Regions from separate parts of the Homo sapiens genome. Here all the other regions are linked to region 6. The links are contacts of gene promoters, found by promoter capture Hi-C in blood cells and fetal thymus (Javierre and others, 2016). All regions are on one chromosome and are shown on one strand. The core of a region is centred on a gene start or on the middle of the fragment in contact, and the rest is flanking DNA. Distances in the headings are between cores, read along the strand shown. Region 1 overlaps ARRDC3 (arrestin domain containing 3). Region 2 has its middle 32 kb from the start of LUCAT1. Region 3 holds the start of FEM1C (fem-1 homolog C). Region 4 holds the start of COX7C (cytochrome c oxidase subunit 7C). Region 5 holds the start of CETN3 (centrin 3). Region 6 holds the start of GIN1 (gypsy retrotransposon integrase 1). Region 7 holds the start of SRFBP1 (serum response factor binding protein 1).

Region 1 (4,042 bases), core at 1,517-4,016, about 12 Mb after region 6:
TCTATTCTATTCACATCTGGTATTATTATTCCCTATAAACTGACATATTTTAAGAGGGTTGCATGAACAGTTTTTCTTTGATACATTATAGTCTTAATGTGATAAATTTAAGCAAACCGTTGGAGACAAAGGATAGCATTGTCTTACCATGATGTGAGACCCGAGCCTTTTGAGTATATATACTATTTTATAAACAGATGCTTTGCAGTTTGGGTCATTTTCCATTAGAAAAAATAAAAAGCCTGTGGGGTGTGAGTATTCATTATCCCCATTTTACAGATAAGGCAGCTGACGACAGGATTTTTATTTTGTCCAGAGGAAATGATGAAGTTAGAATTAGAACTCAGATCTCTCAGACTCCAAAGCTTGTTTTGTGGTCTTAATTGTTATGTAAGCATCTTTAAAGTTATGCCACCCTGCGGAGTATGTAAATGTTGAATAATAAATTCTTTGTTTTCTTTTTATGTTTGTTTTAGATGATGATAATTCCGAAGAAGGCTTCCACACTATTCATTCAGGAAGGCATGAATATGCATTCAGCTTCGAGCTTCCACAGACGTAAGTATTATAAATAATAGGCATTTTTATAGATACTTATGATCAGAGCATTATTTTAAAATTAAGTATTCTAAATTTAAACATTTTTAGTTGAAAAAAAAACCCTTTTCATTACTGAAACTTGCTAGAGGAAAACAATATATTAAACATAAGAAGCTATTTTTTAATCTAGCGTGGCAAAATTATAGAAAGCATACTCAATTTTCAGTATTCTTTCCTAAAGTTTATGAGGTTTTTAAAATAGGAATAGGGTTTCCTTTAACATGAGTGAATTGGAAGTTGCTAGTCGAATAATAACCACTTTATACTTAGTTTATTATCAATTATCATTATGAGAAAAGATAGACCCTATCAAGTCTTAGTAGCTTCAATTTATAAAAAATTCTATATTCTACTTTTTCTGCTAATACTAACCAATAGCAGTAAGTTTCGAAAATAAAAATAATTAGGAATATCCTAACTTTAGAAATGTTTTTCTTCTGATATGAACTTAATAGCTTCTGTACAAAGAACTATTGGGAAGGTCACACAAGAGATATGACCCAGGCTTAAAAGGAAACATGCATCAAGGATACATTAATATAAAACTTGGAATCTAGTAAGAAAGGAAAAAGGAAAGTGGTATATTCTTAAAGTAATGACAGATTGTTGGAAGAGATGATACAAACTTTTTAAAAAAAAATGCCTTTTAACAAATATTAAAACCTGCAAAATGGCACTTGTGGTGATTATTCTGGAGAATAAACAGATTACATAAGATTTTGTCAGGTGACAAATGTACATTAATTCTGCATTTGTTAATTCTAGTGCTTGAGATGTTATATATAGAGAGAGAAGTCATAAATGGTATTTTTTAGAAAATTCTATTTACTGTATTATTTGAGAATTTTATTTGGAATATAATGCCCTCATCTAATTTCTGAGAAAAATATTAAAGTCTGTTGATAGAATAAGGCCAATATGGGGCCTGAGTATTTTCAGCGTCATTTAATGTTAAAGTTCTATCCATAAACCAAAGTCATTTAACATAAATTTTGGATAACTATTAGCATACAGTTTAAGATTTTATTTCTCTGCTATACAAGTTAATGTGGGAGTCTAAAATGCAAAAAAAAAAAAAAATTATGAAAACACCAGTGTTTCTTATGCTAATCTAAGCTAGCACTCTTGTAAATAACTGAACATTGAGTATTTTACTAATGAAATTATGAAAAAGATACTGAACTTGCTAAAATAAAACCTTCCACAAGTAAAATCTGACAGAGTTAAAAAAAATTTTTTTTTATTCTCTTGACATAGATCAAGAGGACTATATCTTTTTCTTTTGAAGCCCGTAAAGTTAGAGAACAGCCAAACAAGAATTAGAACATGAGTAAACTGAGAGATACAAAAGTAGTTTTTCAGTAAACTTAGGAAATGTGAAATTTTTGAAACTATAATGACTATTCCAGGCCTTTTCTAGACCTTAGTTAGTTGCTATTAAAAGATGATAATTCCCGGCTAATGAGAAGTGGAGTACTATAGGGAATTTGGTCTGAATGTTTAACCAGTGTCTAGAATTTATCAGTAGAAATAGTTAAACCATTCTCAACTTTGTGTTTGAATTCTTGGCCTTTTCAAAAAATGCCCATTAAACTTTCATGATTTTGCCACCATCATTAAAAGTAGCCTCCTCTTAGTTTAAATGGATTGTATTCTTCTGGCTTTTTAAAGCAAAATTTTAAAGATATTTATTGTTTATTCTTAGTTGGAAATAGGAAGTTTTTTCCCCAGTGACTTATCCCTTTGGAAATTTTTTAAATTATATGTTTGATACCTCATTGGAACATAAACAATACAATATATTAACACTTCTATTCTGACCTACTGTGTAATTGTTAGAAAGAGGTATAAAATTAATATATTGACCTTTATATTCTGCACAGACCACTCGCTACCTCATTCGAAGGCCGACATGGCAGTGTGCGCTATTGGGTGAAAGCCGAATTGCACAGGCCTTGGCTACTACCAGTAAAATTAAAGAAGGAATTTACAGTCTTTGAGCATATAGATATCAACACTCCTTCATTACTGGTAAGAATTGACTGAATTATTTATTCTTTGTTTTTGGCATATAAATATTAAAGAATAATCAATCACCTAAACTATGCAGTTGTCATAATTTAAAAATACTGGTTTTCTTTTAAAATTTCATAAATATACATTTTCTTAAATACAGTCAAGAACACTGAAATTAATGAAAAATATGCTCATATTTTTGACATTGTAGTATACCTTTAAGTAAATATAAAACTAAGACCAGTATATGATATGAAGTATCTCTTACTCAGAGTATGACAGCCATAACAAAAAACAGATCTGGTCCTTGGATGATTTGAGTGGAAGAAGAGCAGTAGTATCTTTTATTATAATACAATATCACTTACTTGACAATATCATAATCTAAAATTTGTACTATACTTTGTTATTCCAATAGAGGGATAGTTGTCAAATAATGGGGAATCATTAGTTTCATTAAAAAACTCCTTTTTTAAAGAAATCTATTTTTAATTGCATTTGTCTGAAAATAATTCAAATTTGACTTAAAACTTTATTTGATTTAAACAAATGGTAACATCTTTAAAGCACATAAGAAATGGGCATTTTCCTTTTTTACATATTGATTTTTTAATAGTCTCAGAGAAAGATGTTAACATTTGGAATTATAATCAGATTGCTTTCTTTGCTGCCTTTTTAAGGCAGTTTAAATGGAATGTGGAAAGGGTTTTTTTTATTTGGTTGGTTTTTGATTACTATATTTGTAAATAGTGTGAGCTAAAAAACTATGTTTATGGGATAGGCTGTAAACCCTTTACCTTTTTTTTCTAATTGAATGGAAATTTATATGAAAATAAAAGTAATGGTATAATTCAAAACCATCGGTTAGTTAAAAAATAAGAAGTATGTCTGGATACAAAAAAAAAGCAAAACCAGTTGTAATTTTTAATTTTCCATAAATTTAGGGTTATATTTTAAAATATTCTGGTATTGATTGTACCAATCCATACACTGACCTTTTTCTCTTAATTTTTTTCTTACAGTCACCCCAAGCAGGCACAAAAGAAAAGACACTCTGTTGCTGGTTCTGTACCTCAGGCCCAATATCCTTAAGTGCCAAAATTGAAAGGAAGGGCTATACCCCAGGTATGTAAGAGGTAGATTCCCACAAAAAACTTTTCTTCACTTAGCTTTTGTGTTTAAATTTATAATATGACTACTAAATATAAACATAATATAGTATTCTTTTGTGAAATAACAAATTGTGCTTATCCATTTGTTTTTTTCACAAAGTAGAATGTAGTTTCCTTTTTCAAATAGCTACTGATTAGTTCATTTCTATGACTCAAGTTATTTGCAGTTCCTGGGACATCTTTTCATGTATGTTAGTTGCACTTTCTTACTTTAGCTTTAAGAATCTTGACTTCTTTTGTTGTTTTTTTCTAAC
Region 2 (3,793 bases), core at 1,128-3,627, about 12 Mb after region 6:
TTAAACCTTATAAGAAAAGTAACCTGAAGTAACCTGATGTTAACCATTCTGCTTTTTTCTATATTTGTTTCCTTGTTCTCATATAAAAACTAACTGTTGCAATGAGTGCTGATCATGCCACTGTACTCCAGCCTGGACAACAGAGTGAGACCCTTTCTCAAAAAAAGCAAAAAACAAAAAAGTAACTGTTTTGCTAAACCCAGTAGAGCACTCATTATTTTATAGAATAAAATGCTGCCTGATTCTAGAATCCCAAATAAAAGCCAGTTTGATCTTTAAATTTGTTTTAATTTTGTCTTTTAACACCGTCAAAAGTCATATATTGAAGCCTAAAACCCGCCCCTTCTCTCTCTCCTCACCACCCTGTGTGTACACAAAGAAGAGATCATTTGAGCATCCACCTGCAAGCGAAGAGAAGAGGCTTTAGAATGAAACCTTCCTTGCTGGCACCCTGATCTTTCCAATCTCCAGAACTGTGAGAAGTATATCTCTATTGCTTAAGCCACACAGTCTGTGGTACTTTGTTATGGCAGCCCAAGCTGAGTAAGACAAATACTATTTCAAGAAAGTGACTTATTACTGGGTGCGGTGGCTCACACCTGTAATCCTAGCACGTTGGGGGTTGGAGACAGGCAGATACTTGAGATCAGGAGTTCAAGACCAGCCTGGCCAACATGGTGAAACCCCACCTCTACTAAAAATACAAAAAATTAGCTGGGGGTGGTGGTGTGTGCCTGTCCTAGCTACTTGGGAGGCTGAGGCAGGAGAATTACTTGAACCCAGGAGGCAGAGGTTGCAGTGAGCTGAGATCATGTCACTGCACTCCAGCCTGGACAACAGAGCAAGACCCCATCAAAAAAAAGAAAAAGAAAAAAAGAAAATGACTTAGTGACTTATCTCTTATGAGCTGCTTGGGGAAGTTGATGGGAGATTGGTCACTAACTTCTATCAACAGCTAAGCTCATCAGCCTTATATCTGGACAGAACCAAATTTCTGTCTCAGCTAAATAATGCATTCCTGTATGGCAAAGGGGCAATAGTACAATAGTATATCCTCTCTGCCCAGTGACTGCTATGGTACTTTGTCAAGGAGCTCTCTCCGAGGATGGGAGAAAAGCGTTCTTGCCTGGTTGTTTTGCATCACCTACCACTTTTCTGGCCAACTGATGATTGTAGGGCATTCCTTTTATTTAGATTTCCTTTATTTCTTTCATCTCTCCACTCATAATCAAAGAACATTAAGTACTTGCTCAGGTGTTTTAGACTCTTGTCTAAGGATCTTGCCCAAGGTCACTGTATTAGTCTGTTTTCACACTCTATATATAAAGAAATACTTGAGACTGAGTAATTTATAAGAAAAAAAAGAGGTTTAATTGACTCACAGTTTCACATGGCTGGGTGGGGGGCCTCAGGAAACTTACAATCATGGCAGAAAGTGAAGGGGAAGCGAGGACCTTTTTCAGAAAGTGGAACGAAAGAGAAGAATGAAGGAGGGGCTACCAAACACTTATAAAACCATCAGATCTCATGAGAACTCACTATCACGAGAACAGCATGGGGGAAACTGACTCCATGGTCCAATCCCCTCCCTCCCTCGATACATGGGGATTACAGGTCCCTCCCTTGACACGTGGGGATTACAAATCGAGATGAGATTTGGGTGGGGACACAGAGCCAAACCATATCAGTCACTGAACCACTACGTTTGTGATGTACATTCCCAAAGCTTTTATTAGTTCTAGGATCTGGACAAAGTACCTGTACTACCTCTTTGTGATCTGATCAATAGTTTAGTCAAGTTCAATAATACTGATAACACAATACAAGCTTCGTTTACTGAGAAATTTTTTGCATGGAAATGTGCTAAACCTTTTATAGGCATCATCTCATTTAATCCTGCCTGCTTTGCAAACAGGTGAAATGGTGATTATAATCTCCATTATAGGCTTAGAGAAGCTAAGTATCAAGTCCAAGTTCACACCGTCATAAGATGAATTTGGGTTTTTGAACTGAAGTCTGACTTGGTAAATGCCAAGGCAATATCCATATGGATATGCTAAGAATAATGAATCAGAATCAGGCACAGTTTTTAAAACATCAAATGATGTATGTAATTACTTAAAATCTTAAATTTTTATGCAATAATTTGACTTTTTTTTTAAGGCTAGCGCATTAAGTATACCTCCCATTACAACTAGTTCAAGTATATGAGATTCCATTTCTGGTCCATATTACTCATTTTGCTTTCTTGGGCTCTGATCCTCTCTCGTATTTTCATGTTTCCTATTTGTATTTGTTTGGGGCTTTTCTCTCCTTTACAAAATTGGGTAGTCATGCTTCTCCAGTAACCTTGGTGAGTCAGTTCAACCTCTAATTACTTCAGTCTCCTTGCCTGCAAGAAAAGCAGTCAAACTACACGAACACTCTATTGTTTTGCATCATTTCACACGTACACAGGGATAAGGAGGGAAATAATTCTCCCAATGAAGCAGAACCACCGGTAACAGCTGGCACAACTTCTAAAGACCCAGTCTGTCTTGAAAAACAGCCGCAAATTGTCCCTAAATAATAATTACCCCACCTGTATCAGGACTATCTCACTGACTAGCTGCACTTCATGACACAATACCTGCTATTAACTCTCAGCATGGATATAAACATTGCCATAATATTTTTTAAAACCAACAATGTATCATTTGCACATTAGGACAACAGAATGTTAGTTAAGGCACAGAAAACACAAAGGCATGGCTACCCTGTTCTTTGGTGACTCCATATCTAATTATTACCACACATGTCTCCAGTCTTTAGACAAATTTAGTTATTATAAGGGTGGTTGGACAAATAGCAAAGATTTGATTTTCATTAACAAAGGGCACATCAGAACCGAGTTAATCCTTCCCAGTTACCCAACATTCAAAGCTTCTAGTGCAGTCACTTTCTAGTCATTTTAGAACCCAGAGCAGTGTGACGATTTGATGCTTAAGTTTCAACACGTTTTATTAATCCATTCTTCTTGTGCTTCATTTAAAATATTGGAAACTATAAAAAGATCAGCGTGTTAATCCTCTGCCAGGAAACGGGAAAAAAAAGTTAAAAACCTAACAACAACACGAAAAGAGCAAGAGCGCTGGAATCTCAGCTTTGAGGAAACACATGGGATGAAAGCATCCGCCCAAGCTCTAACCATTTGTCACATGGGACTCTTCCCCTCGGGGGTGAATCCTGGATGTCCCCAGGATGGAGCGAGGAGGTCGTGCGTGCGGGCGAGTGTGTGACTGCAGGGGGCCTTGGCGGCGCGAGGAGGCGACGCCGCCCCCTCCCTCAGGCGCAGGGAGGGTCTTCCAGGAAGCGGCGGATCTCTGCTGACTCCGCGGCTGCGGGCCCCGGGCTGCGGCCGCCCAGGCCGGCACGTAGCGCCGAGCGTGACTCAGCGCTGACTCATCCGACTCGCTGCCAGTGGATTTCCCCCGTCAGCTGCTCGCGCTACTCCTGTCGCCGGGAGCTCGCAGGACTTCGCAGATACCGCTGCCTCCTTAGTCTTTCCTGAATAGCAGAGCAGTCCTGTCGCTTTAAACAGAGCAAGGCAGCTTTCACTGCTTTTGAATCCCGACCGAGCGGGGCACTGCCGTGCTTTGTTTTCTTTGCCTTTAAGAGTGCAATAGTCCACTAATCAAATTCTTTCATCAAAAGAGTGTTGGGACAAATCCCTGACATCGTCCTTCCACTGTGATTTGGAGATGACCTCCACCCAGGTTTCACTTCCGTTGTACCCAGCTCTCGTCTTATTTTT
Region 3 (3,999 bases), core at 388-2,887, about 12 Mb before region 6:
TGGGGATAAAACAGCCAGTCCTCTTGGCTGGTTAATTTTTATGGATGGTCAATCTTATCCTTTATACTCTATTCTTTTATATTTTCTTCTCAGTGGCAATTACCTTAACTTCAGTTTTGGGAATCTGATGTTGAGTGTAGTCTGATACTGACTACCTAAGGGAAATACTATGCTATACTTAAAAATTATTAAGACTGTAAAAACATAAGAAACGTTTAGAGTATAGAAAGGAAAAGCAAAATATATAGTTGTATGAAAATTATTTCAATTATGCAAAACTACATAAACTTCTGAACAACACTACAATATACAAAAATGAAGTTGTGATTTTTTATAAATGTTTTTAGTGCTGCATGACTTCTAACATAACGTTATGGATTACATATGCTGAGGGTCAGACTGCCTACTGTAATATTCTATTTCTCCTAGTGGTACTAAGGAATTATGTGAGCTTAAGTTCCCTCAAACAAAGTGATTGAAGGTCCATTTTCAAAAATTCTGTTTTCTCATCAGGATTCATTATGGGCGTTATTTCCCAAACACATTTAAACTTTTTCATCCTAGTTTAATGCAACGTAGGTTTTAGCATCAAATTCCAGAGGTTTATCAACTACTATATGAAGAAGTAATTCTTTTCATTCATATATATAACCTTTTAAGCTTTAGTTCCCGATTTATTACTCAGAGCTCAAGAACCTGACCTCATTGACTTTACATTGCTCTTAGGGTTTACCATTCCTCGTAGCCTTTATGCTTTTTAGAGGCTACTTTAGAAAGAGAGTCAGTTTGACAGCCTCCAAAACTAATCACATTTTCTGAAATTTCAGTTTCCTCCGTGTGTGTTCTGAGGTGTAATTACGAGCTTGGTAATTTCCAGGGCCCACCAAAGTAAGGACGGAAGACTAGTCCGAGAGACTTCACGTGTGTGAGGGTAATACTGGTCCGCACCCAAATTTGAATTTTAGCTCCCATGATTCCCACATATTGTGGGAGGGACCTAGTGGGAGATAATTGAATCAAGAAGGCTGTTTCCCCCATGCTGCTCTGGTGGTAGTGAGTACGTCTCAGGAGAGCTGATTGTTTTATATGGGGTTTCCCTTTTTCCTTGGCTCTGATTTTCCTCTCTTGCCTGCTGCCATGTAAGACGTGCCTTTCCCCTTCTGGCTTGATTGTGAGGCCTCCCCAGCCACGTGGAACTCTGAGTGCATTAAATCTTTTTATCTTTATAAATTACCCAATCTCGGGTATGTCTTTATCAGCAGCGTGAAAACGCACTAATACACTTCCCTTCTGGGGTCTCTGAGATGGGACCGAAAGATTCCCTAAGGGAGCACCCCGAAAATCCGAGAGGAGAAGAGCCAGCGAGATCTCAGAACTCGAGCTGCCTCGGGCCGCTTCGATGGGCACAGATCCGCCCCCTCGCAGCGCCCCGCCCCCCAGCGCGTTGCACGCAGGCACGTCCTCCCAGTAGTTCAGGCCCCGCCCCCTCCCCGTCGCCCCACCCCGGCCGCGACGCCCCGCCCCGCGCCTAGGCTGTTGCTGGCCGCGGCCGCCGCCCTCCCCCGGCCCAATGGCGTGGCGGCACAGTCAGTGATGTGACGCTCAGGCTTGTCCGGCCCCCGGCTCGCAGCCCATTACACCATCCGTCGCAGCAGTCGCTGCAGCCGCTGCAGTCCGAGCCGACTAAGGGCGGGAGGCAGCTCGGGTGGCGGGGCGTGGCGAACAGCGCGGCCGGATTCATTCCTTTGGGGCGCGGAGCATGGAGGAGCTGTGCGGCCGCAGGCGGAGCAGGGCGGCCCGGGCGGCGGTGGGGACAACGGTTTCCCTTTGAAGGGGACGGACAAAGCCCGAGTGACCAGCGGCGGCGGGGAGGACTAGTCCCCGGGCAGGTAGTGGCGGCGGCAGCGGCCTGCCAGGGCTCGGGCCGGGGCCTGAGGTGCCCGCGGAAGGCCTGGGCGGGAAGGAGGGCGCCGGGGGAGCCGAAGGCGGGCAGCGGGCTGGAGGCCACAGCTTGGCCCATCGGGAGGGGGTTGTGGTCGATGGAGGAGATTGGGAGGGGGCTGCCGTTGTCTGGAACAGGGAGAGGGGAAGGTTGTGTTGGGGCGACTGTGGTTTGAGGAACCTGCGGATCATCCCTTGGCGGGGGGTGGGGGGTGATCGAAATGGGGCGGGCGAAGTTAATGACTAAAAGGCAGGCGGATTTCCTGAGAGCCGTGAGTAGTTTTAAAGGAAAGAGAATCTTTCGGGGCACAGTTTTGGCCTTAGCCGGGGTTTGGTGTGTCCGACCTTTTTGTTCTTTCTCGAAACCCGGCCTCAGGCCTTCCAGCCTGGCGCCCTTGGCCAGCTCTCCTGCAGTTGCAAGAAAGAGAAACATTTCTGAACCCGAGTCTCCTGCCTCTTTCGGTTGTACTCTCCCTGGGCGTGTGCAAAGCAAAACTAGAACAAAGCTTGGCTGGTTAGAGCTGGAGGCGAGAAAACGGGCTGCCTGTAGTGTTTAAATTTTCCGCACATGGAGGAGACTGCCTGCGACCAGAACATTTGGGTCTCTGTGTATCCTTCTGTATTTTTCTTTACCACCTTTTCTTTGGGGGTGGGGGGGGTGTGTGGGATGGAGTAGTGCCTGAAGTATAGCTTTTATTCCTTTCTTCCCACAGAAGTGGAAATTAAGAAGTGTTTTGCCTTCTTCTATAGAAAATTAAATGCTGCTACTTTTTTTTTCTTTCTCTAGTTTGGTGCCCTGGTTGTCAGATGTTGGAAAGCAGTAGGACGGAACATACTCTTCGTGGTTGTGTATCCGTTCTGGGGTGCAGCAATTAACATTGGACTTTGGTTCCTGTGACTCTTGCCTGTGTCGATAGAGTTAAACTGGAGCTCTGCTTTGAAAGATAAATAAAGCACAGCCTCTCAACTGGACATAAATGGATCTAAAGACAGCAGTATTTAACGCAGCTCGGGATGGCAAACTCCGGCTTCTCACCAAATTGTTGGCAAGCAAATCCAAAGAGGAGGTTTCCTCCTTGATCTCTGAAAAAACAAATGGGGCCACGCCACTCTTGATGGCCGCCAGGTATGGGCACCTTGACATGGTGGAATTCCTCCTAGAGCAATGCAGTGCCTCCATAGAAGTTGGGGGCTCCGTCAATTTTGATGGCGAAACCATTGAGGGGGCTCCCCCTTTATGGGCCGCTTCTGCAGCAGGACATCTGAAGGTGGTCCAGTCCTTGTTAAATCATGGAGCATCTGTCAACAACACGACTTTAACCAATTCAACTCCTCTTCGAGCTGCGTGTTTCGATGGCCATTTGGAAATAGTGAAGTACCTTGTAGAACACAAAGCTGATTTGGAAGTGTCAAACCGACATGGGCATACGTGCTTGATGATTTCATGTTACAAAGGACATAAAGAGATTGCTCAGTATTTACTTGAAAAGGGGGCAGATGTTAATAGAAAAAGTGTCAAAGGTGAGTTCAGCTTCTTTGTTTTTCTAAATGTCTACCACTTATTTTCAGGAAGTTTGATACATCATTATAAGCACTGGTGTTGAGTAAACCAGCATTGACAGACCTGTTTTGATTAGGTAAGTCTTCCAGTATGACTTTGTTGAGTGTTTCTATGATGTTTGGTAATAGATTGAAAAAGTGTGATAAAAGACTTCTGTTACTCTGTTAAGCAGTATTTTCTCTCTTATTTGGAGTAACTTAAAATTCTTGGGAAATGGGTTCCCCAGAGTTACAGAGCATGTTAGTGGTAGCTGATCTGAGCCTTTAGGCTTATGCTTAATCTACTTGGGAATATGGTTAAATGTAATACATTTTTCTTAGCTTTTTGTTTTGTTTTTTTTTTTTTTAGAACAACCTTGGAGTAGAAATTACTATATTTATTGAGTCATGGTCTTGTTTGTTCTAGGCAGTCATTTCACTTTTTCTGTCAGAGAAGGCTAGGCTAAACTGACCTGGAAGGATTAATATCAGTGGAAAGGAGCAAATCTGTTCCCTTAT
Region 4 (4,207 bases), core at 883-3,382, about 17 Mb after region 6:
CTAGAAGGGTTTTATCTTCAGGGATTTTTCACAACTTAAACAAGTATTGTAAGCCAATTTAAAAACTAGGAGCACAGTGACCACTTTCTAAAAGAAATGGAAATGTTTATAGTGTTTTAAAAGACACATTCTCAGCTACTGTTCTAGTAACAGTGTTCAAGATAGAGTAACATTAATCAGTTTATCAGTTTTACCTGGTTAAAAGTGTGAGTTCTGCAACAAGAAACTGCCTGGGCAAGAGTCCTGGTCCACCATTATACTAGTTATGAGATGTTGAACAACTTAACATCTCTGTGTCTCAGATGGGGTTACTATCATCCGCCTCACAAGCTTGCTAGAGAACATGAGATATCGATGTAAAGTGTACCTGATAAGCAGTAGTATTCAATAAACACTGGCCATTATTGAAATATTTTTATATAGGTTTACAACTAGTCTCCACCAATGCCACATCTACACATAACCTCAGGAATCAGCCCTACACAACAATGTATTTGTGTGTGTGTTCTGGGTGATGGGGAAGAGGCTACTTAATAAAAAGGCCTGCTTTAACATGATTAGAAATCCACTAACTACCTGTTAAATGGAGGAACTGAAACATCCTTATGTTTTAAGCAGTTGGTGTCTTACTACAAGGAAGGGTGTAGCAAATGCAGATCCAAAGTACAAACACATCTTAGCTAGTAACGACCACTTGTTTTCCACTGAAAATGGCAAATTCTGTTGGAAAAAAAGAGAAAAAGTAATCGAAATTGAATCTCAAATCATCTGCTTAATAATCAAAATACAAGTATACAGGAAATGCTAGTTATATTTTACATCATCAGGTTAACATATGCCATAAATCATAACATCGTTTTAAACATTTATCTTTCAAATCCTATGACCTTCATCACAAAACACTACATGGCAAGAAATAATCTGGCTTTACTAAGCACTAGGCAATGAATGGTCTTGAGGACTCAAACGTCAAATAGTGAGAAGTTTCTTACTTTAGAAAATCGAAAAAACTACTGTCCTAAGTAGTCACCTTAGAAGATACATGGCAATGTTAAGTGCAATACAGCTCTTTTTTTTTCTTTTTTTTTTTTTTTGAGACGGAGTCCCGCTCTGTCCAGGCTGGAGTGCAGTGGCCCGATCTCGGCTCACTGCAACCTCCACCTCCCGGGTTCAAGCGATTCTCCTGCCTCAGCCTCCCGAGTAGCTGGGATTAGAGGCACACACCACCACGTCCGGCTAATTTTTTTGTACTTTTTAGTAGAGACAGGGTTTCGCCATGTTGGCCAGGCTGGTCTGGAACTCCTGACCTCAGGTGATCCGAACGCCTTAGCCTCCCGATTACAGGCGTGCGCCACCGCACCTGGCCCACAGTTTTTTTTGTTTGTTTGTTTTTCATTACCAAGCACCTTCTCTGGCCTTTATGACTAGGCCTCGTGTGACCCTCCGAGATTGTTACTGCTATGTGGTTTAAGTTATTTACACCTGAGGCCAAACCCAGCCTTAACTGAGGTGAAGGGTTAGTACTTCTAACTTAGGCAGCTAGTTTAAAAAGCCTGTTCCATAACCAGAGGCCCTGATTTCCTCATGATTTTCCAATGACCTTCATTTCGGGTCCGATGACCTCCAGCTCGGATTTAACCAACACACCTACAGCCGTGGCCTCCCGGAGCCATCTCAGGGCTTTCTGCGGGGCGGGGGAGGGGGCGTCAGGTGGCTGATGGAGGCAGGGCTTCCGGATCTACCTGCCCATTCCTTTAGCGGCTACGCGCTAGGATGCCCAGCTTCCTCACTGGTCCTTGGGCTAAGTGGAATGCTAGTCTGCGTCTCAGCCTGGTTTCTGGCTATCATCTCCCACGCCACAGCCCGGAGGCGGCCTTGCAGGTGCGCGAGTCACAGCCAAGCGCCCCCTCCCCCAACGAAGCCGTGCCCCTTACACACTAACCTTCCCAGGGCCCTCCTCATAGTGGCTCCTACGGACCACAGAGGTTGTGAACCTCCGGATGCTCTGGCCCAACATACCGCTGCTGGAAGCTCTGCGAAAGGCGCAGAGAATGAGGACAGATGAAATGGCGGCACCTCACCAAGACCTTTTTTTTCACGACCTTGTTCCCCGGTGCGCAAGGACTGAAAAGAAAGATGGGAAATGGGGCGGAGCCTTGAGGAAACGCGACAAAGCGGAAATCGCCCTGGATTGTGGGAATTGTAGTTCAGACCATTGCGGAGCCTTATCAGCCCCCGAAGGATTGTGGGAAATGTAGTTTCGCGCCAGGCTTAGGTCTAGGATTCCTGGGGCCTGTTACCGGAAACGATTTTATTGAATCAAGTGAAGCAGTTTCACCCCGTATACTCTAGTCTGTTGAAAAGGACAATAAACCCATCCCTTTTCTCTTCTTTCTTTCTTTTTTAAAAATAAAGTATATGCTAGGTGTCAATGATTTCGAGGACTTTTGCCAATGCTGAGAGATATGTGCTAATGATCCTAGCTGAAGAAACAAAGCATAAACACAAGTAATCAAACAACGTGCAGCACAAAGGACTTCAGAGAGAAAACTGAAATGCTAAGGGAATGATCACTAAAGATAATGGGAATCGAATAAAAAAGAAGGAAGAACAAAGGGCAGGGAAAACTCAAGTCTGGTATGAGTACAGCATGTGTGAGGAGTAGAAGGGAAAAGTGGCCTCTGACACCTGGAGCTAGCCTGGACTAGGAACTGGTGTCCGCCTGATGAACGTACACAATTTCAGCAAGCATTAGCATCCAACAAGACCACTCTGACAGTGTTCATTAAGAAAAGAATATGATCACTGTGTAATCACATCTGAACACAGATAAAACATTGTCCAAGCCACGAAAATGACCGGACATCACCCTATCTGGTTTAATTTGATGACTTCTGCTTCTTTACCAATTACAATCTTAGCCTTGATCTAGCCTTTCTTCCTCCTAAGATTTGGTAAGGTAGCCAATATTAGGAGAAAAAAATCCCAAATCCAATAAGCATTTTCTAATATTTTACAGAGAACCCTTACTGCAATGAATAATAAACCCCGTTTGTCAATTACATGTGTGCTTCTGGTGGTCTTTGACCAGAAGGTATTGAGAAGAAACCAGTGATAAATGAACCTGGGAAAGTGGTGTTAGGTTAGATTGTGAAAGGCCCTGGTAACCTAAATGTTATGTTATTCATCTGTGGGGGAGTGTATATTGCCTCACGTGTCTCATTTATATAGCATTAGGAAACAATTCCAATAAGACCTAAGGTTTGCTTTGAAAAGGGCATAACATATATGCTCTTTTCGTCTTTTTTTTTTTTTTTTTTTTCAGTTTTTGGAAGAGAACAACCATGCCCCTCCCCCCCAAAAAAACACTTAAAAAAAACACTTAAATTCATATTTTGTTTCAACAAGTAGCTTCTTTTTGAGTAGGGGTTCATGAAATGCATCATAACTGGTGTCCTCTACCACCTAATTTATAGAAGTTATGTGACATTCCATTTTTTTTTAACATTCCGTTCACTGCCTTTACATATTAAAGAATTCTGATTTAACTATAATTGAGAAACTTTTTCACACTTAATATTTCTAGATTACACTTTTCAATCTAGTGTGAGTAATGTTATCTGTGGATTTGGTTCATTGTTGCTTCTAATTCACATTAATTGAGCCTCCATTGGGTATCTGGCTTTGAGTTAACTCTTTAGGGACCTGCAGGGCAGAGATTCCAGAATATGGTTTCAGAACTGTCTGCCTTCTCATGGGCTTTGTGGTAAGTTAAATACAAAAAAAAAAAATATGTTTGGCCGGGCGCGGTGGCTCACGCCTGTAATCCCAGCACTTTGGGAGGCCAAGGCAGGCGGATCACGAGGTCAGGAGATTGAGACCATCCTGGCTAACACGGTGAAACCCCGTCTCTACTAAAAATACAAAAAATTAGCCGGGCGTGGTGTCGGGCGCCTGTAGTCCCAGCTACTTGGGAGGCGGGGGCAGGAGAATGGTGTGAACCCGGGAGGCAGAGCGTGCAGTGAGCCGAGATCACACCACTGCACTCCAGCCTGGGCGACAGAGCGAGACTCCATCTCAAAAAAAAAAAAAAAAAAAGTTTATACCTATGTAAATATGGGGGAGGGTGGTGGTTACACTCAAGTGCCGGGCATGTGAGTGAAGCTATCTTGGACACTTCAGCCCAGCCCCGCCCTCAGCTGAATAT
Region 5 (4,015 bases), core at 1,436-3,935, about 13 Mb after region 6:
TGAGAATTTTGATTGCATCAAATTTAGGTTTAAAATATAATTAGTGTAACCACCTGTCTTATCTTTAGTAATAGATGATTAGACCCCAAGTTTCAGCAGAGCAGTTTTCCATCTAGAGATTTCTTGCCTCAACCTCCCGTGAAGCAAGAAGTGGTTGTCACTAGTTCTCACTAATTAAATATAATAAAAGTGATGCGTGTAAATTCCCTGTCACTCTCTTAAAAGGACACCCTATTGAAAACCTTTTAAAATCTGTTTGCCCAAATTATTTGCTTATAAAACGCACTCTGAGACCAAAAGCATCTCACAAAATCCTAGTGTTTCAGGAATGAGGTTTGAGAAACACTGGTGTTTAAGTATTCTGCCGATCATATTTAAAAAAGTATTTTCTAAACCCACTTTATATCCTAATAGAAAAGGTGTTACCTATTATTCAGTGCCTTTTTGACACTGAGATGATTTCCTTAACCTAACATTATAATTATTTAACACAGATTTATATTTTGAATTATCTTTGCACTTAACAAAAAAAAACTCAATTTAGTTATAGAGAAATGTTCCTTTAAGACAGTATCAAACTGACTTTGCTAACATCTAGGAATTTTGCACTTAAGTTCACAAATGAACATCAAACATGAGTCAGGCACTGGGGATACAATGGTGAGAAACATGCATAGCCTTCATCATCACTGAGCTTACACTGAGTGACTTTAAATGTTCTTTTAGGATGTGAAAGATTATGGCAGCTTCAAAAATTAAGCTAAGAAGCTCTCCATCATTTTCTATGACTTGAGTTTAAAGCACAAGATTTAGCTCTTATGATTTTTAATCATAAATCTGAGTGGGCTGGAGGCTTTTTATTTGTGAGTACAGAACTTTGGCATCTTTGTTCCAGTCCTGTCTGTAGTTATTGACTTAATTCAGTTTTCCACCTTTTTTGAGTTATGTTTTCCTTGAAAAGTGACTATTTCATTTTCTATTAATATTTATTGGCGGTATAAAATTGTATAAAATATTTTAATAATTTTTAAACCTCCCTTTTATTAAATTACCAACCTTACTAGTGGCACTATTCCTTTTCTTGTTACACTTCCTATAAGTCTTTGAATTTCACTGGTATTGCCAAAAACCAGCTTTATACTAGATTATGAGTACTTTATCAATTTTACCAATTTCCTTTTAAAACACTGTTCTCAAACTTTATCTTTACTAATTTCCTCTTCCTAATTTCAATTATACAATTTGTTCTTCGTTTCTAACATCTTCAAATAAATGCTTGGCCTATTTTTATTCTTTCTTATTTAAAATAATGTTCTCCTATAACTTGGTCTGTATCTTAAAATTTTAACATATAGTTTTTTTCAATATCATTATGTTCTAGTAACTACAATTTCTCTTTCCTTTTAGACTCAAAGGTGATTTATAAAGGTACTTTAAAATTTAAAATACGAACAAAATAAAAGTTCCACTTTTGTTTTTTAGGGGTGCTATCCCTTAGCTAATTTTTAGCTTATTCTATCATACTATCTTTCCTTGTGCAAATTTAGCCCATCCTTCTAGGTCTAACGTTTATGTCACCTCCTTTAAGAAGCATATCTTGTGTTCTCTCCCTTCTCTAAAATTTTATATACATCCCTTAAACATATAATGTTTATATATTCTCCGCCTTCAACTCCCATCCTCAGGCTATTTTATTCACGTTTATGAGATTTGCTGTTTAGCTCAGTATTTTGTGGATTTTCAAAAGATTCCACTCAATTTACCGAGCACCTACGCACCAGACATTTTATTAGGTACAAGGAAAAGCGTTAAATAGATATAATCACGGCCTCCAAGAAATTGAACCTAGTAAGAGACACGAATAAGCAGACATTCAAGTGAGCTTTAGGAGACTTGGTTTGGTAGTGAAGACAGTCTCATGTGTGTTAACAGCTTACAGCACTGAAAAATAAGAGACAGAAGGGAACAAATCCGTTTCAAACAGTTCAAAGGAGGAAAGAGAGGGAAAGGTGGTTTAGATACAGCTAAATCATAAATAGCCTGATAATCTAACCCTGTGATAATCCAAGTACAGCCACAGCACCTGCCTCAGAATCACTTGGAAGGCTTGTGAGGAGTAAAAACGCAGATTCATACCTACTGAAATTAGAATGGAGAAACGGACATTTAAGTCTGCATTTTAAACACATTCCCCAGGTACTGAGGCCATTCCAAGTTTTAGAACAGAGCACAGCCAATTTTCGCAGACCTTGTTCCTCAAGTACTCCCTCCTTCTAGCCGGAGGGTGGCCTGCAGCATGTCCCTTCCCTTCCCACCGCCGAAGCTGTCCATCCAGTTTCTGAATGGCGGCCCACAGACCGCACGGCTTTACGAGAGAGGAACACAGCGCCCACCCGCCAAACAGCCACACAGGGATCGGAGGCCGGACCCGCAAAGGATTCGGGGAAAAACGCATCGAGCCAATCCGAAGGGCGAGAGCGGCCCTAGATTGGGGGGGCGGGGGGGCGTTAGGAGGTGGGCGGGGCACAGAAAAAAAATTTTTTTTTCCTTGATTGACGTAAAACCTACCCAATGAAAATAGAACTGGTAAAGCTTCCGCCCCCTAATAGGCAGAACCATAGCGACATTTCAACCAATCCAGCTCAAAAGTGTCTATGTTGTGGGAGGTCCCTGAGGCCGCTGAGGTCGTTCGTGTCTGTTGAACGGCTGTGGGCGTCTTGCTGCCTTGGGTAGGGGGTTAAAATCGTTCTTGAGAGGAACGTCTCTGTGCGAAGAGATAATGAGTTTAGCTCTGAGGTCGGTAATAAGGAGGCGGCAGTGCTCTCCACACCCCGGAGCGGGGCCCAGGGAGGGTGTGTGTGGAAGGGAGGACGTTTGGGGCCGAGGCGAGGCAGGGGATGTAGTTTGGGACGCGGGAAAGGAGCCTAGGGCAGCCTGCCCGGATCACTCACCCTCTGGGCTCTGATGCCCTGCAGGGAACGAGACCAGTGCATTTCTGCTAAGGAGGTTATTTCTGTCAGCGCGTAGGGCTTTGGACTGCCAGAAGGTTGGGCTTAGTTGCGAGCGAGGTGGGAATGAAATATCGCGAGGCTTCTACTCTTGTTTCTCAGATCAGGTCGCGGACATCCCTTCATTCATCCGTGTGCCTGGTCAGGGCCCCACCTCGGCTGCTCCGCTGCTAATGCAATCACCCACCTATAAATTTTGGAAATAACAAAAACTCTTTCCTCTTCTCCCAGGGCCCTGCTTTACGGTGTAATTGGAGACCCATTTTAGTGACTTTAATTGGCAGTCTGTCTCTTGGATTTCCTAAATTTCTTGCATTTTTTTACCTTTCAGTTCTAACCTCTAACCCTCTGTTGCCCTCTCCCACTATGTAGACGTTGTACCGTAAAACTATCCATACACTTACGACACTCCGAAAATATTCCATGTTCTGCTAAGGGATAATCATGGTACCCTTGGATGGGGTCAGGGGTGGGTCGGTTCTGGACTTGGCCTCCAAAAGTCTCAGGAAGGAAAAGACTGACCCCAGGAATACCCAAGTTTGTGTCAAGTCAGGTCTCATGAAAGGAAGATCTTCCTCAGCTTTGTTATACTGCACCTACTAGTCACTTCCTAGCTTTTTTTTTTTTTTTTTGGAGCTTTCAGAGACCAAAACGACTTTCAAATGCAACTAGATAGGTGTTTTAAGTACAGTCAACTGGTTTGACATGTTAATGTGTTACCGGATTGTGTTTCAAAACTCGTTATTCCAGTGTTGCGGCTCCATTTGAAAATTTGGAGCACATTTAGATGGGCAGCTCTTAAGGAAAACATTTCTGGCTTTAAAATAATTTTTGCTTTTTTTCTTTAAGCGTTTCCAGAGTTTATGAGAAGTTAACCTCCGGTTTACATGTTAAATGAGACAAGACTCATCACATTTTTATATAGAATGAAGCACAAACATTGTATATTGGCATCTAATATTTGTCATATGTTTAGACTCATTAATATTTTCGATGGTTTGTTAATA
Region 6 (4,069 bases), core at 1,061-3,560:
CATTTCCTTCTGCCTGGAATTCACTGCTCTCCTTGAAAGTTCCTATCCGCCATTCAAAAACCAACTGAAAGGTCTTCAGTGAAGGTTTTCCTGAGAACTATCACACTTCTGTTAGGCCCCAAATACACATAAAAACCCTCTCCCATCTTCTATGTTCCGCAGCATTTTGGATCTATCTTTTCACTTATCTGTTTCCATCAGGGTTGGGTTTTTTCCTCCCCAACTTTTTATTATGAAAAATTTCAAATATTCGGAAAAGTTGAAAGAACAGTTTGTTAATCATCTATATGCCCACCATTATACTCACAATTGCCAACATTTTGCCATATTTGCTATTTATACACACAGACACATACACACACATACACTTGCTGTACCATTTGAAAGTACTAGATATCAACACACTTCAACTCTAAGTACGTTAGTATGTATCTGCTAAAAATAAGAACACCTTCCTACATAACCACAATTCCTTTTCCACGTGAGAAAATTAATAGTCCATAACATTGTCTATATTGTGGTTGCATGGGAGCTTTTAAAGAATGAGGACCTAATCTATATATTCCCACTACTTAACTTGGTTCATAGCACTTATTTGGGTAATCAACAGATGTTCTACCAATTGTTCAGTTTAATACCCTCACAACAACTACTCTGAAAGTCATATGAATTTAACATTTAAAACAGCAACCTTTGATTTTAAAATTTTCTGCAAATCAGTTTAGTCATTTGCTTTAAATAAACCTGTGCTGCAGTAAGTACAGTATTCTGGGTTCTGCACTACTTAATTCTGCATCACAATGCTCCATAAAGACAGAGATCATGTCTAACTTTTGTCAGACATATAAGTAGGTACACCAAAATTTTTTAAATGAATGGATACTTTCAGACACTGAAAATGTTAGTGAAGAAATTGAAATCGAGGAAGAACAGGACAGGACAATAGAATACAGATTTTGAAGGCAGACAGATCTGGTTTTTAACACAGATTCAAACGTTTACTTATAACAAATGTTTAATAGAGCAAGTTGCTTGACTGTTCAAAGCCTCCATTTCTAACTCTGTAAAATGGTGATAATAATCTAACATACCTCCTGGAATTGTTGAGAGGAATAAATGACAAACTATGTAAAGCACTCGGCACACATAAGACTCAGTTAATGGCAACTATCGTTATTATTTTATCTATCTGAGACAAAAAAATTATCTATTTCATTTAAGAATTCTCAATAGCAAAACAAAATCCTGTCCCAGTGTAGAGCGAGGATTTTACGTGCTAAGGTCAGCTATGCTTCCCACTTCCACAGTTAAGCCTTCCAGCAAGACAACTACTAGCCAAAGGACACCAAGAGTCGCAATCTCCCAGGAAGTGGTCAAGAACCTCGTGAATGAGATCCAGGGATCATCACCCTGGCCCCTTCTTCTTCAAGGCGCAGAAGGCTGCAACGACCTCCAAATGACTAGGTGCGGCAGTGCCCTGCAGCCTCGGTCCCTACTATGAAAAGCTGCAACACATGAGGCTTTTGTTATTTTAAAGTGGGTGTGGGGTTGACAGAGAGAGGGATAAAGACTAAGGCAGAAAATTTTTTAAAAAGCCACCTCTACCCACAGCAGTCCCATAACTCGAGGCTAATCACTTCAGTGGAGCCAGGCACAGCGTGGGGTAGAAGCTCAGCGGTTCCCTTTTAGCTGATCTTCAATTTCTGGCGTCTCGAACCCAAGAAATGAAAAAGGGAAGCCATGGGGGAGCAGGAGGAGAAATCAAGGCGCGAAAGGACCCTCAAAGCTGTACTGTCACTCCACGCCCAGGCTGTCATTCTCTCCAGCACAAGCCCCTCGGTGGAGCATGTGTTTAGGGTCTGCAGAGCACAGGAGACAAAGCAGAAGCCCAGCAGCCGCCTCAACCCTGGCATGATCAGGTTCCGCATCTCCGGTTCTCCTCCGGTTTTGGGCCCTCACCTGCCACGAATGCGGTCGTCACGCGAGCAGTTGTGAGATGGTCAAGCCCATTCAGGTCTAGGTTACCCCCTTTCATCCCGGAGGCAGGGGTGAGGTGTTTGTCAAGAGACTTCAGTTGTAGGCGTGGACGTAGGCTACTTCCTTCAGTAACAGCTATAGGGCCACATAAGGGAACCTCAGGCTACTACACCTCAGGAATCTCCGTCACGCCTCTTCCCCGCCCTCCTCGGGTCTCACGCCGAAACCTCACCGGGCGGAACGATTTCCGGCAAGAGCCAAATGATCAGTCCTAACCTTTCTGACCGTGGTTCCAAGGTTCCCCAAAGGACTGCCCTCTAAAGGACCCGGGTAGTTCCGCTTCCGGCAGCGCGAGATAAATCACGAGAGGAAGCTTAAATCTGTCGTTTGAATTTAGGACCACCTCGGTGAGTGGTCGTTCTGGTGTGCTGTGTCATACCTACTGTTTTTTAAAGTGAGGCGTAACCCGACAGTAATTTCAAAACCATTCGCCTCGACCGGCCTAAGGAAGGGTTTAATTGAGTCTGTGGGGAGATTTTGCGCAAGCGCCTTTGAGATAGGAGGGCCTTGGGCGTTGCGATGTCCCGCGCTAGCTGAGCAGAAAGGGCGAGTGCTGTTTCGGGCCTGGGGAGGTGCCTACTGGGTGTAATTGAGTTTTACCAAACGGTCATTTTCCTGCTGATTCTGAGTGTGGTTGGACCTTGCCCTTAAGATTCCGTTAACGAGTCGCCCAAAGCTTAGGAAATGCTCCCTCACAGCGTTTGAGACTAAGCACTTTTGGCCGGCGTTGAAGAATTCTCCCCATTACTTTGATCAGTCATTTAATCAGAAATTTTGCCCCAAATTTAAATACGTGGCGGGGAGAAACGTGAGGTCAAGAGGGAATCCTGTCACGTAGTTTTAAAAGAAAAATGTCCACTTTATCTCAGTGTAGGTTTTTCTTAAATGGGCATTTCTGAACCAAAGTAGATACTTTTTAAAGTGGAAATGCATTTATCCCATGTGGCTTCATGTGAATGCATATGGCGATGAAGGCATTTTTTTGTTCAATGAATTTGTACTCTGAAGTGAACCAGATTACAGAGAAGTGTATTTAAATTTACAGGTCCTTGACGTTGCATAAAATTGTGCGTGTCCATTTTTTGGAGCTTAAAATAGAATAATTCAAATGTCAGAATTCCGATCCAAGTTAACATGTTGATTGAAAATTGCAGATTTTAAGATGGAACCAGCGGGTATTATAACCTTTTAGGGGCTTAAATTGGTGGCTTTGTTTTTAACCCTTGGTGAAACAGTTAAGTCCTAATCTTGACATAATACCTAACTGCCTTACTTTATTGAACACAAAATTATTAAAGGAATTAAGCAATGAGTTGATTTTATTTGCTTTTATGGAGGGGACAAAGTGTATAAAGCTTAACCAAATGTGACCCTGACATTCCTCTTGCAAAACTACAAGTTGTAATCAATCACTTTCATTTTTTCTTATTCCTACATGTTTAAGTACATTAAGTAATGATTTTAAGAGAAATTCTTGAAAATATGAGCATATCCAAAGAAGTCCCAGGACAGTCTTTCTTTATGTAGTAGAAACCACTTAATCCCCCTTGTAAATGATACCTTTACTTAGCAATCAGAGTATAAGAAGATATTTATATTTGTCTCGAATATTACAGTTTCAAGCCATTTTCTCATATGTATGGGCTTTGAAAAAAAAAAAACAACTTTCATTTACGTTACTTTTGTATATGAATACCAATTATTAGCAGTAAAACTTTTAACTACTTCAAAGGCTATGCTTTTCGTGAACTGAGTTTTCTTTCTTACGCATTTTCTATTTCTCCTTGTCATCTGTCTCTCTACCTCCAGAACCAGCAGTTTGTGAACTGCATTAGACTGTTATATCGTTATAAAAGGATACAATTCGTGAGTCTTCTGATTATTTTCTTCTTAGCACTGAAGCTTTATAAACATTGCTATAAAACATTAACACCATTAATGAAAGGAAAGAGATTTTAAAATATTTTTTCATGTAGGTGAAGATTTTGGGAAAAGAAAGGGTTTTATGTTACTTTAAACAGCCTGATATGGA
Region 7 (4,226 bases), core at 31-2,530, about 19 Mb before region 6:
GCAGCAGAGAATATATTTCAGTTTTATTTCCTTCTTCATCTCACAAGTTCCCATCAGTGAAGAGTTACTTATCCCTGTATTACCCACGGGTTCTTCTGCTACTAGCCCTTTCCTGCTTATACCAGTCCCTCTGCCTGGAATGACTTCTTCCCCTTTCCTGAATCACTGACTGCAATTCCTGTGCAAGATCCCTAAAGACCAAGGACAAGTATCACCCATTTCATTTTGCCGCCTTTGGAAACTTTTCTGCATTACTAGGTTTTGGAGGCATTCTTCACACATTGTTCTGTAACACAGGTGAGTGTTGCTTAGCTCTCTTACTTGAGTATAGGTTACTAGAAAATATGAAATATCCCTTACACTACTGTGTGTAATCTAAACAGTGACTTGCTCATAAACGGGATAAAGAATTTCCTTTCTGTATCTAACTGTGAGGTCCTTACTCGATCCTTATGTTTCCAGCTTACTTTAAGACTTTGGATGACATTATTTTGTTGAATAGAAGCAGAAACCAGAGGGGGATAAGTGGTAGAAATGGTATTTTGTCGACACCGCACACTATGGAAGTGACGGTGGTGAGAACAAATGTCTGATGAGAATGGACTGAAAAAGCAGAAAAAAGAATTGAGGATAGCAAGTATAAACAGCTCTTTATTGAAGTTCTGCTGTAAACGGAAGCAAAGAAATAGGACACTAACTGGAAGAGGAAACGAAGTACTGAGCATACAGTCTCATTCAAGACCACCAATTTCTTAGAAGCTACAGCTCTTACTTTCTCTCTTTCATTTTCGACAGGCAATAAAGAGCAGGTAATGTGTACTGAAAGTTTATTAAGGGTCAGGCACTTGCAAATACTTTACGTATCTCAGTTAATCTCACAACCCTGGGACGAACTATCTTGAGTTCCGCTTTACAGACGAGAATATTGAACGTACAGGCTAAAGGTTCTTCCCAAAGTCCCACAGACATAAATTCGTGGGGCCTGACACATGTCTCTCACTTTAGTCACCTGGAGACCGAAAAGGGAAATTACCGGTTGCCAAACTCCAAGTTGCGGGAAACCCGCCTGGGCCCACCACGAAAGTTCCTCCAACCGCACCCTCTATGCCCGCCTCCGACCACGCGTCTCAAAAGAGCTGGTTTTGAGGACCCTTAAAGTCAGCCCCATAGGTTCCTCGGCGCTCACCTCGTTATTGAGGTTCAGAGTTCCCGGCTGAGCCATGGTAGATGAAGGAATATGATCCGCCGCTGCCTGCACGTGAACCGGTCTCTCAGACCGCGGCTGCGTCGCCACGCCCCTCAACGGAAGCCTCTTCTGTCCAAAACTCATCCGCCTTCTGCTCTAGCTGCCGCCTGGGAACAAGAAACATTGACGCTTGGAAGGGAAAACCGGAACTGAGACAGAACAACTACCGGCGCAGAGGGCTACGCAACGGAATTGCGCGTTCCTATGGAAACCAGACGGGGGCTGGTAGCTGGGCAACGTCTAGTTTTTCAAGATTCGGTTTGTGTGTGTGTGTGTGTGTGTGTGTGTGTGTGTGTGTGTGTGTGTGTGTTCCCTTGGTACACTGCGCTCGCATTGTACCGGCCTTGGTTTTTCTCTCTAATGGCTAGGGGGGCGCTGAACGGCGGTGAAAGAGCTCTTCTGAAATGATCACTTGAATGAACGATTTTTTGCTTCCATTTTTTTAAATCTAGTATTTGTGAAGATTTCTGCTTTTCTAACAAGCACACCTTTTTAAATCCTCGCAGTTTTTTGTTACAACCTGACATTATAGCTGAGGTGCGGACATTTTTTTCCTGCACACTATAGAAGGGTTTAAATTTAGGGAATAAACATTTGAAGCAAAACCAGGATACACATTTGGTACTGCCTGTGGGAATGGCTGTTTATTAGCCGGCAAGCATAGGAGACGTAAGGGAGTGTGTTTGAATTAGGTAATATATAATTGTCAACACCTTCTAGTATTGACCATTAAAATGTGTCAAATGGTGGTCCAAGAGCTTTACATAAATTAGCTCCAAATCTCCACAGAAATCCAACAAGATAGAAATTATTTTCCTTTTATTAATATTATTTTGTTAGAGACCCAGTCTCTCTTTGTCATCCAGGCTGGTGTGCAGTGGCACAGTCATAGCTCACTGCAGCCTCAAACTCTTGGGCTCAAGCCATCCTCTCACCTCAGCCTTCCAAATAACTAGGACTACAGGAGTGAGCCACCCTACTCTGCTCTGAACTATTATTTTACAGATGTGGAAAGTGACTTCAGAGGCACCAAGTGCCTCGCCCAGAGTCACTTGCCTGGGACTGTCCACTGCTACAGGACTTCAAGTCCAGCTACATAATACCTGGGGTACAGTGCAAAATGAAAATCCAGGCCCCTTTATTCAAAATGCAGGAAAAACGTTTCTTCCGGCGGAGGGTGGTGGCTCATGCCTGTAATCCCAGTACTTTAGGAAGCCTAGGCGGGCGGATCACCTGAGGTCGGGAGTTCGAGACCAGCCTGACCAACGTGGAGAAACCCCGTCTCTACTAAAAATACAAAATTAGCCGACCGTGGTGACGCATGCTTGTAATCCCAGCTACTCGGGAGGCTGAGGCAGGAGAATCACTTGAACCTGGGAGGCGGAGGTTGCCGTGAGCCAAGATCACTCCAGACTGGGCAACAAGAGTGAAACTTCGTCTCAAAAAAAAAAAAAAGTTTCTTCCATAGCGTCTCTTGACTCATCATGGTGTTTGTTAATTTACTATTTAATACGATGCTCCCTAAAGCACAGAGACATTAGGTTGTCAGGGCAGACCCTCAAAGGTGCCTGAGACCCCTGCCCCAAGACTCAGGTAGGAGTGTATACACTGGAGCAAGGTGGCAGCAGTTGCTGGGTGGAGACAGGAGAGCAGGAAACCAGAGAATCCACCTGAGGAGCTTTTGGGGACAGGACCACACATGACCTGAGACAACAAGGCCTTGGCACATGTTCCATTATCCCACTAGACTTCACTTACAAAACTCAAATTCAAAAAGGAAATCACTAATAATTTCAAGACTGTGCCCAAAGCTTAGTTAACCAAGGCCCACTTCTGAGCCTTTGCCGAAGAAACCAGCCTTGTCCAGAACCCATGCTGTTATCTCATAAAACTGAACTCCGCTTAGAATAGCTCTGACTTGGTAAAAGAAATTGGCATTCTTTTAGTTTGGTGCATTATTTGGACACAAATGGATTTAACAGATGACTTCCTGTTGGACCAGTGTTACATGAAGGTAGATTTGCCACTACTAAATAGTACGCTGAATTGTAATTGTTTCCTTTGTCTACCTTCTGTCATTAAAGCTGAACTCCTGGAGTGTAGGAGCTTTTTCAGCTCCAGGTGGGTAGTGTACACTTTGCATATAAATACATACGAAGGAATGTCAAATAATCAAGATAAATAGAGAGCTTTATTGAAAATCTGTCTTCGAATTTGGGAGAAAGGAGTTATTATGATCCCATAATGCTTCAGAAAATGTATTACTAATACAAAATTTGCCTGTAACTCTGAAAAGCTTTGCAGTGTTTTCTCTTGACTACTTCTTTTGCTCCCTAAAATCTCAGTTCTTAAACCACCAGTCTCCTCAGGATCAGCACTTGCTTAGTTGTTTTCCTCCTTAGCCCATGCTGTCTCCCTTAGCTATGATGCTTCCTCTGCTACATCTGCTTGCTCAAGTGCTATTTCTCAAGACCAGGTCAAATTCCATCCATCCCTTTTAATAATTATTTCCACATCCCCAAAGATAAGTTTAATTTTGCTCACCAGTGGGTCATATTTATAGTATTTATGATAGTCTACCAGTGGGTCATTCTTATAGTATTTATGATAGTCTACTTTAATTTGAAATTATTTGTGTACTGGTTATTCTTTTTATGTTAAAAGCTCTCAACAACCTTAGATACTCTTGTTTTTTTTTTTTTTTTGAGACGGAGTCTCGCTCTGTCGCCCAGGCTGGAGTGCAGTGGCGGGATCTCGGCTCACTGCAAGCTCCGCCTCCCGGGTTCACGCCATTCTCCTGCCTCAGCCTCCCAAGTAGCTGGGACTACAGGCGCCCGCCACTACGCCCGGCTAATTTTTTGTATTTTTAGTAGAGACGGGGTTTCACCATTTTAGCCGGGATGGTCTCGATCTCCTGACCTCGTGATCCGCCCGCCTCGGCCTCCCAAAGTGCTGGGATTACAGGCGTGAGCCACCACAC

What was found. Contacts are between HindIII fragments. The CHiCAGO score rates a contact against its expected background, and 5 or more counts as called.
Region 1: a fragment that was not itself captured here is called in contact with the fragment with the promoter of GIN1 in region 6 in 1 of 17 cell types (non-activated CD4 T cells); the score reaches 6.8 in non-activated CD4 T cells.
Region 2: a contact is called between a fragment that was not itself captured here and the fragment with the promoter of GIN1 in region 6, in 1 of 17 cell types (total CD4 T cells). The highest score is 9.2, in total CD4 T cells.
Region 3: a contact is called between the fragment with the promoter of FEM1C here and the fragment with the promoter of GIN1 in region 6, in 5 of 17 cell types (fetal thymus, total CD4 T cells, non-activated CD4 T cells and 2 more). The highest score is 12.1, in fetal thymus.
Region 4: a contact is called between the fragment with the promoter of COX7C here and the fragment with the promoter of GIN1 in region 6, in 2 of 17 cell types (total CD4 T cells and non-activated CD4 T cells). The highest score is 11.4, in total CD4 T cells.
Region 5: a contact is called between the fragment with the promoter of CETN3 here and the fragment with the promoter of GIN1 in region 6, in 1 of 17 cell types (non-activated CD4 T cells). The highest score is 7.1, in non-activated CD4 T cells.
Region 7: the fragment with the promoter of SRFBP1 here is called in contact with the fragment with the promoter of GIN1 in region 6 in 2 of 17 cell types (total B cells and fetal thymus); the score reaches 6.0 in total B cells.

The regions. Positions count from the first base shown.
Region 1 is chr5:91,375,210-91,379,251 of GRCh38, reverse strand. It overlaps ARRDC3 (arrestin domain containing 3), which reads left to right. Exons shown (of 8, transcript NM_020801.4): 2 at 477-558; 3 at 2,484-2,631; 4 at 3,639-3,741. Among named protein-coding and RNA genes, the nearest start is that of ARRDC3-AS1, 3.1 kb to the left of the region's middle. The HindIII fragment of the contact is 4,797 bases long and covers 368-4,042 here.
Region 2 is chr5:91,280,266-91,284,058 of GRCh38, reverse strand. No RefSeq gene overlaps it. Among named protein-coding and RNA genes, the nearest start is that of LUCAT1, 32 kb to the left of the region's middle. RefSeq lists enhancers at 2,658-3,599, 3,342-3,601, 3,600-3,793. The HindIII fragment of the contact is 1,095 bases long and covers 1,830-2,924 here.
Region 3 is chr5:115,542,413-115,546,411 of GRCh38, reverse strand. FEM1C (fem-1 homolog C) reads left to right here and starts at 1,637. Exons shown (of 3, transcript NM_020177.3): 1 at 1,637-1,889; 2 at 2,729-3,462. The coding sequence starts at 2,919. RefSeq lists silencers at 1,347-1,686, 1,787-1,836, 1,887-2,056 and enhancers at 1,486-1,780, 1,322-2,088. The HindIII fragment of the contact is 1,787 bases long and covers 663-2,449 here.
Region 4 is chr5:86,615,866-86,620,072 of GRCh38, reverse strand. COX7C (cytochrome c oxidase subunit 7C) reads right to left here and starts at 2,132. Exons shown (of 3, transcript NM_001867.3): 1 at 1,943-2,132; 2 at 577-720. The coding sequence starts at 2,017. The coding sequence ends at 604. RefSeq lists enhancers at 1,042-1,707, 2,005-2,094, 2,027-2,321, 1,708-2,373, 2,385-2,464. The HindIII fragment of the contact is 5,230 bases long and covers 333-4,207 here.
Region 5 is chr5:90,408,426-90,412,440 of GRCh38, reverse strand. It overlaps CETN3 (centrin 3), which reads left to right and starts at 2,685. Exons shown (of 5, transcript NM_004365.4): 1 at 2,685-2,796. The coding sequence starts at 2,780. LOC731157 (a long non-coding RNA gene) reads right to left here and starts at 2,441. Exons shown (of 2, transcript NR_105024.1): 1 at 2,137-2,441; 2 at 1,772-1,941. RefSeq lists an enhancer at 2,716-2,915. The HindIII fragment of the contact is 6,726 bases long and covers 2,595-4,015 here.
Region 6 is chr5:103,118,379-103,122,447 of GRCh38, reverse strand. It overlaps GIN1 (gypsy retrotransposon integrase 1), which reads left to right and starts at 2,310. Exons shown (of 8, transcript NM_017676.2): 1 at 2,310-2,384. It overlaps PPIP5K2 (diphosphoinositol pentakisphosphate kinase 2), which reads right to left and starts at 2,147. Exons shown (of 31, transcript NM_001276277.3): 1 at 1,960-2,147. RefSeq lists enhancers at 1,747-1,806, 1,857-2,046, 2,077-2,336, 2,172-2,672, 2,673-3,174. The HindIII fragment of the contact is 9,897 bases long and covers 1-2,352 here.
Region 7 is chr5:121,959,029-121,963,254 of GRCh38, reverse strand. SRFBP1 (serum response factor binding protein 1) reads right to left here and starts at 1,280. Exons shown (of 8, transcript NM_152546.3): 1 at 1,187-1,280. The coding sequence starts at 1,222. RefSeq lists enhancers at 1,295-1,344, 1,089-1,627. The HindIII fragment of the contact is 3,156 bases long and covers 1-3,059 here.